3 separate regions of the Homo sapiens genome follow, and regions 1 and 3 are each linked to region 2. The links are contacts of gene promoters, found by promoter capture Hi-C in blood cells and fetal thymus (Javierre and others, 2016). All regions are on one chromosome and are shown on one strand. Each heading gives the region's core, a stretch centred on a gene start or on the middle of the fragment in contact. The rest is flanking DNA. Distances are from core to core; before and after follow the strand shown. Region 1 overlaps KIAA0319L (KIAA0319 like). Region 2 holds the start of C1orf216 (chromosome 1 open reading frame 216). Region 3 overlaps KIAA0319L (KIAA0319 like).

Region 1 (3,380 bases), core at 438-2,937, 240 kb before region 2:
AAGAATCTATTTCTAAACTAACATGTTTTGAAACACTGATCTACAAAATGATAGTAACCCACAGAAAGGTACATGCAAATATGGGTTAGGAAAGAAAATACAGTAGAGCCAAACATGTCTTTCACAAAAGAATGGTAGTAATCAACAGCTCAAGGCAGTCCCTCACCTCCAACTTCAAAAGCCACTAAACCCAATCACCTTAACTTGTCACCAGAGGAAGAAAGGAAAAAGCTTCTCTAGAGGAATGTGAAATGAATTGATAAGGAAACCTCGATTTGAGAGCAGAAATATAGAACAGACAGGGCATTTTGCTTCTGGAAAAGTACTTTTTGCATTAATATGCTATTTGGTATTAGGCCTAGAAATTAAGAATACTGTATTGGAGATGTGTGTACCTAAAATGGAAGGACCCCATCCTAAATAGGGAAGGACATTCTACTTGACTAACCTTTTAATGATAACATAAACCCAACTGGCTCAATTTCCATCAAAGTATGTACCACTCAAGTCCTAAATAGTGTTAAGAGAACCCATATGTGTTTGTAAGTCAAACTTTGGTATATTAACACATACTTCAAAGGTGAAAGTAATGTTCATATTACAAAAGTTTTCTTAAATAATGAATTAATCATCCATACTTTATATATTTTATAAACTTGAATTTTGTATATCACATTAGGCTTAGCTTTTTTTTCCCCCAGGGACAGGGTTCTCACTATGGGAAACGATGGTCCTTACAACGGTCCTGTGAGGATAGGATATAACCCGGGTATGCACAAATATTTATGGAATATGAGAGGTACTATATAATGTAGGGTTTGAGATCACAGGCTTTGATGTCACGCTTGGGTTCAAATCTCAGCTGAGCCACTCATTATCTGTGTGAATCTAAGTAAATGACTTCTCTTAATTTCCATTTCTTTCTCAATAAAATGGGGATAATAATTCCTACCTCATAAGATTACTTTAAGGGCAAAATGAGATAGTAGATAAGTTACCAGTTTAGTGCCTAGCATATAGCTGATGCTTATTAATATAGAACATATTTATTAGGTTGTATTTAAATCCATTTTAAGAGAAAGAAACTGAGACTCAGATTAATCTGTTTATTTTGGTCAAACAACCAGTAAATAGCAGATGTAGAACTTAGAAAGAAGTTATTCAAGATGACTGCTAATATAAATTTGTAACTTAAAAAAAATACATTTTTTCCTGACAGGAAGTCAGAGGAGGGAAAAAGATAAGGGCCAGGAGTGGTAGTGTATGCCAGTAGTTCCAGCTACTAGGAAGACTAAGGTGGGAGGATCTCCTGAGCCCAGGAGTTTGAGACCAGCCTGGACAACACAGCAAGACTCCATCTCTTTCAAAAACAAAAAACGGTTATCCAAATGTAAGGGGATGTTTACCTTTAGGTGGTTCTTGGAGAACATATGCATTTAATTGAACTTCATTCTTAGGCAGGGTTATCTGGACACTCTCTCCAGCAGATACCACCAGTTCCTTTATAACTGGAAACAAAGTAAATATACCAGAGATAAGAAATAGATCCAGACTGTCTTATTTCTCTCTTTCTTTTGTGATCAAACTCCTTTCATGATCAATATTCAGCTACTGCCATCAATTACTAACTTTTTTCTACTCTCTAATTGCTTGAAATTTGATTCTGTCCCCACTTTTCCATTGAAAAGGATCTTTCAAAACTACTTCTTAGTAAATCTAACAGCTGTACCCTAATACCCTCATTCTTCATCTCACATCTCAGTGGCTTCTACTATTGCTAACTGCCTCCATCTTAAAACTCTTGGATATCATGACACCATATTATTCTATTTTTCCTCCTTTCTCTCTTTTCCTCCACTGTATTTTTACTACAGTCTGTCCCTAAGCCCTCCCTATATACTACATTCCACAGAGTTCAAATCCTGTTTCAAGTATCACCTTTATGCTAACAAATAACTTTCTAATAAGATACATATATAAAGTTTCTAGAAGGGAAGGCAAATGGTTACAAATCTGCCTTACTTTCTTTCCATTCCAATTGCTACAAGATTCATTGTTCACACTAGATTATTCCAAGAATTTTTTTTTTCTTTTTGAGTCAGGGCCTCACTCTGTTGCTCAGGATAGAGTGCAGTTGTGTAATCATAGCTCACTGCAGCCTCAAATTCCTGGGCTCAAGCGATCTTCCCACCTCAACCTCCCAAGTAGCTGGGACTACAGGCATGCACCACCACGCCCAGCTTGCTTATCCCAAGAATCTTATTTTATCTTCCCTCTGCTAGCTCTCTCTACTCCAATCTATTCTGTCTTCCTAAAACAACCAACACCATTAGTCTTTCCAAAATACTCACCCACTATGTTACTCTTCTATTTAAGACTCCTGCTCCCATATCATATTTAAGGACAAACTTCCAACCTGCCATTAGAGAACCATCATCTGATCTCACTGTCTTATCCTTCCTATCTAATTTTGCCTCTAGTTACATTGATTTTCCCTCTTGTGTTCCACAAAGCCACGGTCTACTCTCAGGGACTTTGCTAAAGTTATTTCTTTCAACTGCGGTGTTTGCCTTGCTTTATTCTAAATACAGCATTTTGTTTCTAGCTTAAAGTCTGTCTCCTCTCCAAGAAATCTTCCCAGACCATTTCAGTTCAAACTGATCTAATCTTGAAGTATGCTAGCATTTTTGGAACACTCAAGTCAGCAAAGAGCTATATACTGTCTTTATACTATTCACCAGCTATTTCACATATGTCAGAGTTTCTCAAGCTCAGCACTCCTGATATTTTGGACCAGGTAATTCTTTGTCATGGAGGGAAATGTCCTGAGCACTGTAAGGTGTTTAACAGTATCACTGACCCATACTCACCAGACGTCAGTAGCATCACTCCCCTCCCCCAACTAAAAATGTTTGCAGACCACTGAAAGCCACCGATTATATAAATCTTATTTCTCTGACAATAAATGTTCATTTGCTATGAGACTTCAAAACTAGGAGAGCTTAAAGCAAACAATAGGCTAGTCCACTCATATTTCAAGCCTGGGAGGCGAGAAGGGCTTCCTAGACAAATATGAAACTTGAGATTTATCCGCCTCTGCATGGGAACATTGCACTTGAGGAGAAATGAAACCATCCTTAATGGAAGCTTCAGCATTTGGATGCCCCAGGAGATGGAATAAGAACTCTCTGAAGTGACTTTCAAAAAAAGAAAAGAAAGAAACATGATACTCAGAGAAAGTATAATGAACCAAAAAATGGCTATTCAAAACAGTTCAACCCAAACCCTTCACAATTACACCAAAAATTACAGGCATCTTGACTGGATACAAAAATTACTTTGGTGCCTCATGATTGAACCCCTAAAATTTCATGTTCTAT
Region 2 (3,422 bases), core at 213-2,712:
TCCTTTGGCCTACAATATCCTTCCTCTCCCCTCCCCTCAAAGCTCCTCCCTTCTCCACCCAGCAAATTCCTTTTTGTACTTCAAAATTAGCTGTAATATCCCCATGTTTCCATGTCCCCATGTCTCTGAAGCCGTCTTGATACTGCCCCAATCAATATTACATAAACAAGCACGGTTAGTTATGCCTTCCTCTGGGTCCCCACTGCGCTGGGTATACACTGTCTTATCCAACTTTGCATCCGTCCCTGGCATACATGGTCGACGATCAGTGAATGTCTATTCAACTGGCATTTTTGGTTTGTGGTAATGATCTTGTAATAGCAGTTTGTAATCTGGCTTGGACCTCCTGTATATATCCTCCATCATATTCCCCAGAGTCAGCCAGCATAGAGCCCTGAACCAGGCTGTCTGTGCATACAGGTACTTGCTAAGTGAGTGAATGGGAGAAGAGACTGCAGTGAATTTCCATGCTCAGGAATCCACTCTTGACTCCCCAGGGCTGGAAGAGCTGGGTTCTGGAAGAGCTGGGTTTGGTTCCCTTTCCTACCCCAGCCAGGGAGCCCCGCCTTCCCCAGTGACAAGCTTTTCTTCTGAGCCTGCCCCCTTCCCTCCCAATGCCTCTGGAACACAGCCACTATCTTGCGGTCCCCGTCCCTAGCTTGCTCCATTCTGAGGCCCTGGAGGGAGGGCATACCACACCACTCTTCTCTCCTCCATAACCTGCTTCTAACCAAAATTAGGATTTGAACTGACAAAGGGATTCTACTGACCAAACAGCACTGGGATTAGAACAATTGAAGAGCATGAAGAGGAAGGGTATTGTAAGTGGAGCCGGCACTGGAAGGCGCTCCATAGGTGGCATGGACCCTCCCCACCCCCAGCAATGGGCAGAGAAGTCCTGGGGAGAAGGGTGTAGGAACAGTTCGTTTCTAATCGCCCTCTAAGCAAGGCTTGTGGGAAGGTGCCTAGAGATCTCCCCTCGCCCCAATTTTTTATTTTTCCTATACTTGGATGGGGCCGTGAAGGAAGCTGGGATGGGGTGGGGGTGGCGCTAGGGATCACAGGGTTCTCAGAGATAGTAAAATGAGAACCCCGACACGCCAGGACTAGGTCTCCGCCCAAACAGGAGGCAGCCTCCTTTTCTGGCCTTGCGGGAGTGGGAGACCACCCCAGGAGACAGAGACCATCCTTCCCTAGTCTCCTCGAAGGAGGCCACTGTGACTCCCCGCTTCCCGCGGCTGAGCCCCAAGCCCCACCCCGCCTCGGGCCCCAGACTCGGACTCACGGCGTAGAGGCGCCCGCTCCGGCGCGTCTGGCTCTGGCTCCGCCCGGCCCTGGTGGTGTCTAGTCCCTGGGCTGGGGGTTCCTCGGCCTGGGCGTCTCCGCGGTCCAGGCGTGGGTGCGGGGCTCCCGGGCAGCGCGCCCAGCCCCAGTCCCGGACTGCGGAGTCAGGCGGCGTCTGCGCAGCAGGGCGGAGCGACCGGTCCCACGTGGGCCGGTTCGGTTTTCCGCGGAGCCCCGCGCCAGGCCCCTGCGCCGGAACCGCTTCGCCCCCGCGCGGGGCCGCGTTGACCCAGGCCTTCCAGGTCCGGTGCTCTCTCCTATTGGCATTCGCTGGGCCCTTCCCATCAGTTAGCCTCGCTGCAGACACCGTGCCATTTTCAAGTGAAATCTGATTAGTCACCACCTTCCGGCGTTAAACTCCTCAATGGCTTCCCCACCGCCGGGACAACCCCTAAGGCGGTAGCCGCGGGGCTCTGTGCGTCCTGCCCTTCGTCTGCCTCTCCGGCTTCGTCCTCTACCCTCCCTCTCCGCAGTTACCCTCCCACACGCCCCTTTCCGCCACGCGGCTTTGGCACGCACTGTTCCCTCGGTCTAGCATTCTCTTCCCCCTCTCGACTTACTCCTATTTCAGATCTCTTCTCGGAGAGATCTCTGACTCCCTAGATCACGTTCGTTCCCCCCTTTATGTCAGAGCACATTCCTTTTCTTCATAGCATTTATCACAATTTGGAATTATATATTCCTTTTTGTGCTTACTTGACTAAAGTCACTGAGGCCGGGTGCGGTGGCTCACGCCTGTAACCCCAGCACTTTGGGAGGCCGAGGCGGGCAGATAACCTGAGGTCAGGAGTTTGAGACCAGCCTGGCCAACATGGTGAAACCCCATCTCTACTAAAAATACAAAAATTAGCCGGGCTTGGTGGCGGGCGCCTGTAATCCCAGCTACTTGGGAGGCTGAGGCAGGAGAATCGCTTGAACCTGGGAGGTGGAGGTTGCAGTGAGCCAAGACTGCACCACTGCACTCCAGTCTGGGCAACAGAGTGGGACTCCGTCTCAAAAAAAAAAAAAAAAAAAAAAAAAAAAAGAGAGAGAGAGAAAGAAGATCCAAGCCTGGGACAGGGCTCAGGGCTGATGTCCTGTACCCGGGACGGGGGCTCTCCGCAGGACACAGAGCCCACCCATGATGCCTGTGAAGTGGGTACCAGTGCTTTTGCCCAGGTGAGGAGGAACAGCGTGATAAAAAAGGGTCTTGGGTTCCAAACTCCAGTGGATTCTTCTCAGAGCTCCACTCTACTGAAGCTTGACCCCCCTCACTCTTTTGCACCCTGGGGAAATGTGAAGTTGGGGGCCCTGTTTGGAATAAAAGAGAACAGAGTTCAGTAATTGCTGACCCTAATATATGAGGTGCCCTCTTCCAGTTTCAATTTGATTCCAAGTCACCATTCTGCAACCTAGAGACTAATTGGCAAATTAAATCACACCAAGAAATCCTATATGCAAAAACAGGGAAAATGGAAAAGAAATTTTTATGATTATGATGACTATTTTAAAAGGGAAAAGGAAATAAGAAGGAGAAGGCAGAAGTAATTCAAACTTTGCACACTCCTCCAGCTAAGAAAATACAGGTGGAGACGTCAGCCCCATTTCTACATCAGATCCTGTGGCCTAAGTCTTCTCCCTTCCCTTATCCACTTCAGGTTCCCCTGGCCTTCAGCCTGGGGTGACCCAAATCCTCACTTTTTTTTTTTTTTTTTTTTTTTTTGAGATGGAGTCTCGCTCTGTCGCCTAGGCTGGAGTGCAGTGGCGCAATCTCGGCTCACCGCAACCTCCACCTCCCGGGTTCAAGCGATTCTCCTGCCTCAGCCTCCTGAGTAGCTGGGATTACAGGTGCATGCATCACGTCAGCTAATTTTTGTATTTTTAGTAGAGATGGGGTTTCACCATGTTGGTCAGGTTGGTCTTGATCTCCTGACCTTGTGATCCACCCACCTCGGCCTCCCAAAGTGCTGGGATTACAGGCGTGAGCCACCATGCCTGGCCCAAATCCTCACTCCTAAAGGCTCTCAGCTTTGGTGATCTAGGGTTATGCAGTTCTGCCCAGACCACAGAGCCATAAAGTCATCAATTGTTTGTTCTGC
Region 3 (3,545 bases), core at 95-2,594, 180 kb before region 2:
CTCCAATTTTAGATCAGTTCCTCTCCCTGCCCACGCTGCCATACCCTGGCTCTGCTCCCAGGGCCCAGGCAAAAGCAATATTAAATCTTTACAAAAAATGGCTTACAGTTGGTAGAACCTTAGACTGAAAATCTTTTGGGAAAGTCTGGAATGCACTGTTGGTAGGAGCATGTAGAAAGCTTACCCAGGGTGAGAACAGTGGAGCAAAGCCAATTCCCCTCTTTCTAAAATCATAGCAAAGCAGAGAAAGCAGTGCTCCCATATGTATTACCTGGAGGATCCCCAAAACAGGAGGCTCTGGAACTAGCAATGCTTACTTACATCACCACCTCTCAAAAGACAGAATTCTAATATATCTGGCACAAAATCTAGACCAGGTTTCATAATTCCAAGTAGCAGAGTGGAAAAGTCTACAGGATATATGAATTATTGCCAGAAGGAAATTCATTAAATACTTTTAGAAAGCTGTGAACAACTCTGGAAATATTTAAAGACAGTGCTGTTGGCTCTGGCATTCTTAAATCTCAGGTAATAAGCTTGGCTTCTCAAGCAAACTTGAAAACTGCCCTGGTTAGCAACCAAGTAGGGAGCAGAGACAGAACGTCCCCTGTTTCAGGAGTCATACTGTTAGTGTCCAGAAATGTAAATTCTAACTAAATTCATCAGACTGTATCCCAAAGGAAAGGCTGTGATGGTGGAAATAAGAGTAGAGAGAATGAGCTACCAGTATTATTTCAAAAAAGAAAAAAAAAGCAGTTGATAAATTCTTCTCTTCGGTGGGGTTTTCGCTGCAGAAACAAATACATGGTTAGAGTATTCTGTAGAAAAAATTTGCAATTAATATTTACCGTCATTGAAGCTAAAATTCTTTTCTTGAAATCTCACAATTTTCTAATATGGTCAAGACTTCATTCAAAGCTTTCCCTTGATAATTATACCTATAAATGAACTATTATCAAGGAGAAAGGCACAGCCTTAAATTTGTCTCTTTATTCAGTAATTGAACTATGGCTCTACACCATCTGTCTTCCTACAGCTATCATCAAAAGTATGCATTCTCTCAGAAGCAATGGGTCTCAGCCAAGATGGCTGCCACATGAAAATGAGATAAGCAGGCACATTATCAATCCCAAAAACAACTCACAGGAACCGTTCAAAAACAAACCTCCTCAGGGGGCACCCTCCACCTCCCTTTTGACTGTCAGCATGTCTGTCACCTGCACACCCACTAATAAACAAATACAAAAAAAATGGTTCCACCTTACTCTCCACATCAGTTCTACCCTGCAGGGGTTAGCACATTCAGAAACAAGGCAGAGGAGGTAACTAAATCCTTTGAAGGACACAATCAGGTATTACGAAGTTTGAAAAAAGCCAAGGTAATAACCATTGCCCTCTCTCCTCCTTTTCAAAAGGGGTAACATTTTTTTCCTCAACTACACACAGGTTGGATTGAAAGGTGGCAGCTGCCTCACAAAGCAGTCCTTTGAAAATAATTACTACTCACTGCCTTTGCTATGTGCCTAGCTTTGCTAAGAGTACAGTTTTTTAAATGTATGGTGTAGATGATTTGCTGAAACTACACTAACTGCTACACAAGAATTAATAGGCTTTGTGTACATATTCTGACTTCTTTCCCTTCACCGTGGTATTTCCATTTTTCCTAAAGATCATTCTGAACAAAAACAAACTCCTCATGGAACTACTTGCCCAACAGATACATATCAGCTACTATTCACACTAACTCTTGATTATCTGCTAGATGGAAAACAAGCTTCCAAGGACTCAATCACAAAACCTGAATCTTGCAGTACTTTGCTGGTTAAGAATGCTTACAACAGCAAGTCCTTTCCTATAACACTGTCACTAAAAAGCCTCAAAGATACTGGATTGTGACAAACTGTTGAAAAGAATAACAATCGGTGGCCGGGCGCAGTGGCTCATGCCTGTAATCCCAGCACTTTGGAAGGCCGAGGCAGGTGGATCACGAGGTCAGGAAATCGAGAACTTCCTGGCTAACACAGTGAAACCCCATCTCTACTAAAAATACAAAAAATTAGCCGGGCGTGGTGGCAGGCACCTGTAATCCCAGCTACTCAGGAGGCTGAGGCAGGAGAATGGTGTGAACCTGGGAGGCAGAGCTTGCAGTGAGACGAGATCGGGCCACTACACTCCAGCCTGGGTGACAGAGCGAGACTCCGTCTCAAAAAAAAAAAAAAAAAAAAAAAAAGAAAGAAAAACAATCACAAGGTCAGGAGTTCGAGACCAGCCTGACCAACATGGCAGTCAAAAAATCAGCCAGCTGTGGTGGCGCATGCCTGTAATCCCAGCTACTTAGGAGGCTGAGACAGGAGAATCGCTTGAACCCAGGAGATGGAGGTTGCAGTGAGCCAAGATCACACCACTGCACTCTAGCCTGGAAGACACAGCAAGACTCCGTCTTAAAAAAAAAAAAAAAAAAAAAAAAAAAAGAATAACAGTACCCAGTACCAGAACATCTCCCTAGAAGAGGGCAATATTTATAGGCAGAAGAGTAGGGGAAAGTCCTTTTACTCTACCTACTTGAAACAGAATACTTATACTTCACAGGCTAAAGAAAATATGAAAACCACCCTCATTTAGTCTAGGTGAGAAAATAAATTCATTCCCCAAGGTAATGTTCATACATGTCCCTCATAACATTGAGTTGAAATTTGTTTTCAAACAAAATCCCCTATCAAGATCAACAGCCCTATTCCACAATTGCTCTCTTCTATCTTTTGGCCCCCACCCCAAAAATCTGTGGTTAAAGCTTTAGTTCCTAAAGCTGAGATTCCTGCATTTGAATCTCAACCCAGTCACTTCCTAACTGTGTCATCTTGGGTCAAATTCCTTAGTTTTTTCATGTGTAAAACAGGAATAATTTTAACAGTACCTACCCTACAGAGTTATTAAAGATATAAAGGAGAAAATATATGCAAAGTACTTAACATGAGCCTGGCATATAGTATTAAAAAGCTCAGTATATATTAGTTGCCATTATTTATGTTGTTGTTGTTATACTTCATTTTAGCTCGGCCACCACTTTTTCCAGGAAGGCTTCTCCCATGAAACCTTCACCCCAAGATGCCTCTCTTCTGTGCATCCTACATATACCTCTATCATAGCATTTCTCTCACCAGATCATATTTGTTTGTCTACCTCACACACTCTGCCCTCTTTAAGTGCTGGGGTTGTATATTGTATGTGTAGGCCCAGAAAGATGCTTAGCACATAGTAGACATTCAAGGAGCTTTCTTGTTAATTTTAAAAGTTCACCCAATATTTAAATAAATTTGTGGGATTTTTTCTATACTAACAAAATCAAGCAAAAGATGTCAGCTCCAATATGGAATATCTTGAGTTATAGTCATTTGAATCAGATCCTTAATGTTAATTAATTTCCTTGGCTGAAAGAAGGAAGAGGCAAGAGAGAAAAGTAAAGTTCCTGGTTCACTAACAAATTAGAATGAGCTTTTCCAATTAAATTGGGGAGTGCACTGAATAGGAAATATGAGAGATGTGCA

The links. Contacts are between HindIII fragments. The CHiCAGO score rates a contact against its expected background, and 5 or more counts as called.
Region 1: a fragment that was not itself captured here is called in contact with the fragment with the promoter of C1orf216 in region 2 in 4 of 17 cell types (total CD8 T cells, naive CD8 T cells, endothelial precursors and 1 more); the score reaches 5.8 in total CD8 T cells.
Region 3: a contact is called between a fragment that was not itself captured here and the fragment with the promoter of C1orf216 in region 2, in 2 of 17 cell types (total CD8 T cells and total B cells). The highest score is 5.3, in total CD8 T cells.

What each region holds. Positions count from the first base shown.
Region 1 is chr1:35,473,399-35,476,778 of GRCh38, forward strand. KIAA0319L (KIAA0319 like) reads right to left here. Exons shown (of 21, transcript NM_024874.5): 5 at 1,407-1,508. Among named protein-coding and RNA genes, the nearest start is that of KIAA0319L, 82 kb to the right of the region's middle. The HindIII fragment of the contact is 2,916 bases long and covers 230-3,145 here.
Region 2 is chr1:35,717,422-35,720,843 of GRCh38, forward strand. It overlaps C1orf216 (chromosome 1 open reading frame 216), which reads right to left and starts at 1,463. Exons shown (of 2, transcript NM_152374.2): 1 at 1,286-1,463. It also overlaps a transcript of CLSPN not described here. RefSeq lists silencers at 1,195-1,624, 3,287-3,422. The HindIII fragment of the contact is 2,001 bases long and covers 581-2,581 here.
Region 3 is chr1:35,532,654-35,536,198 of GRCh38, forward strand. The region is part of intron 2 of KIAA0319L (KIAA0319 like); the gene reads right to left. Among named protein-coding and RNA genes, the nearest start is that of KIAA0319L, 23 kb to the right of the region's middle. The HindIII fragment of the contact is 856 bases long and covers 917-1,772 here.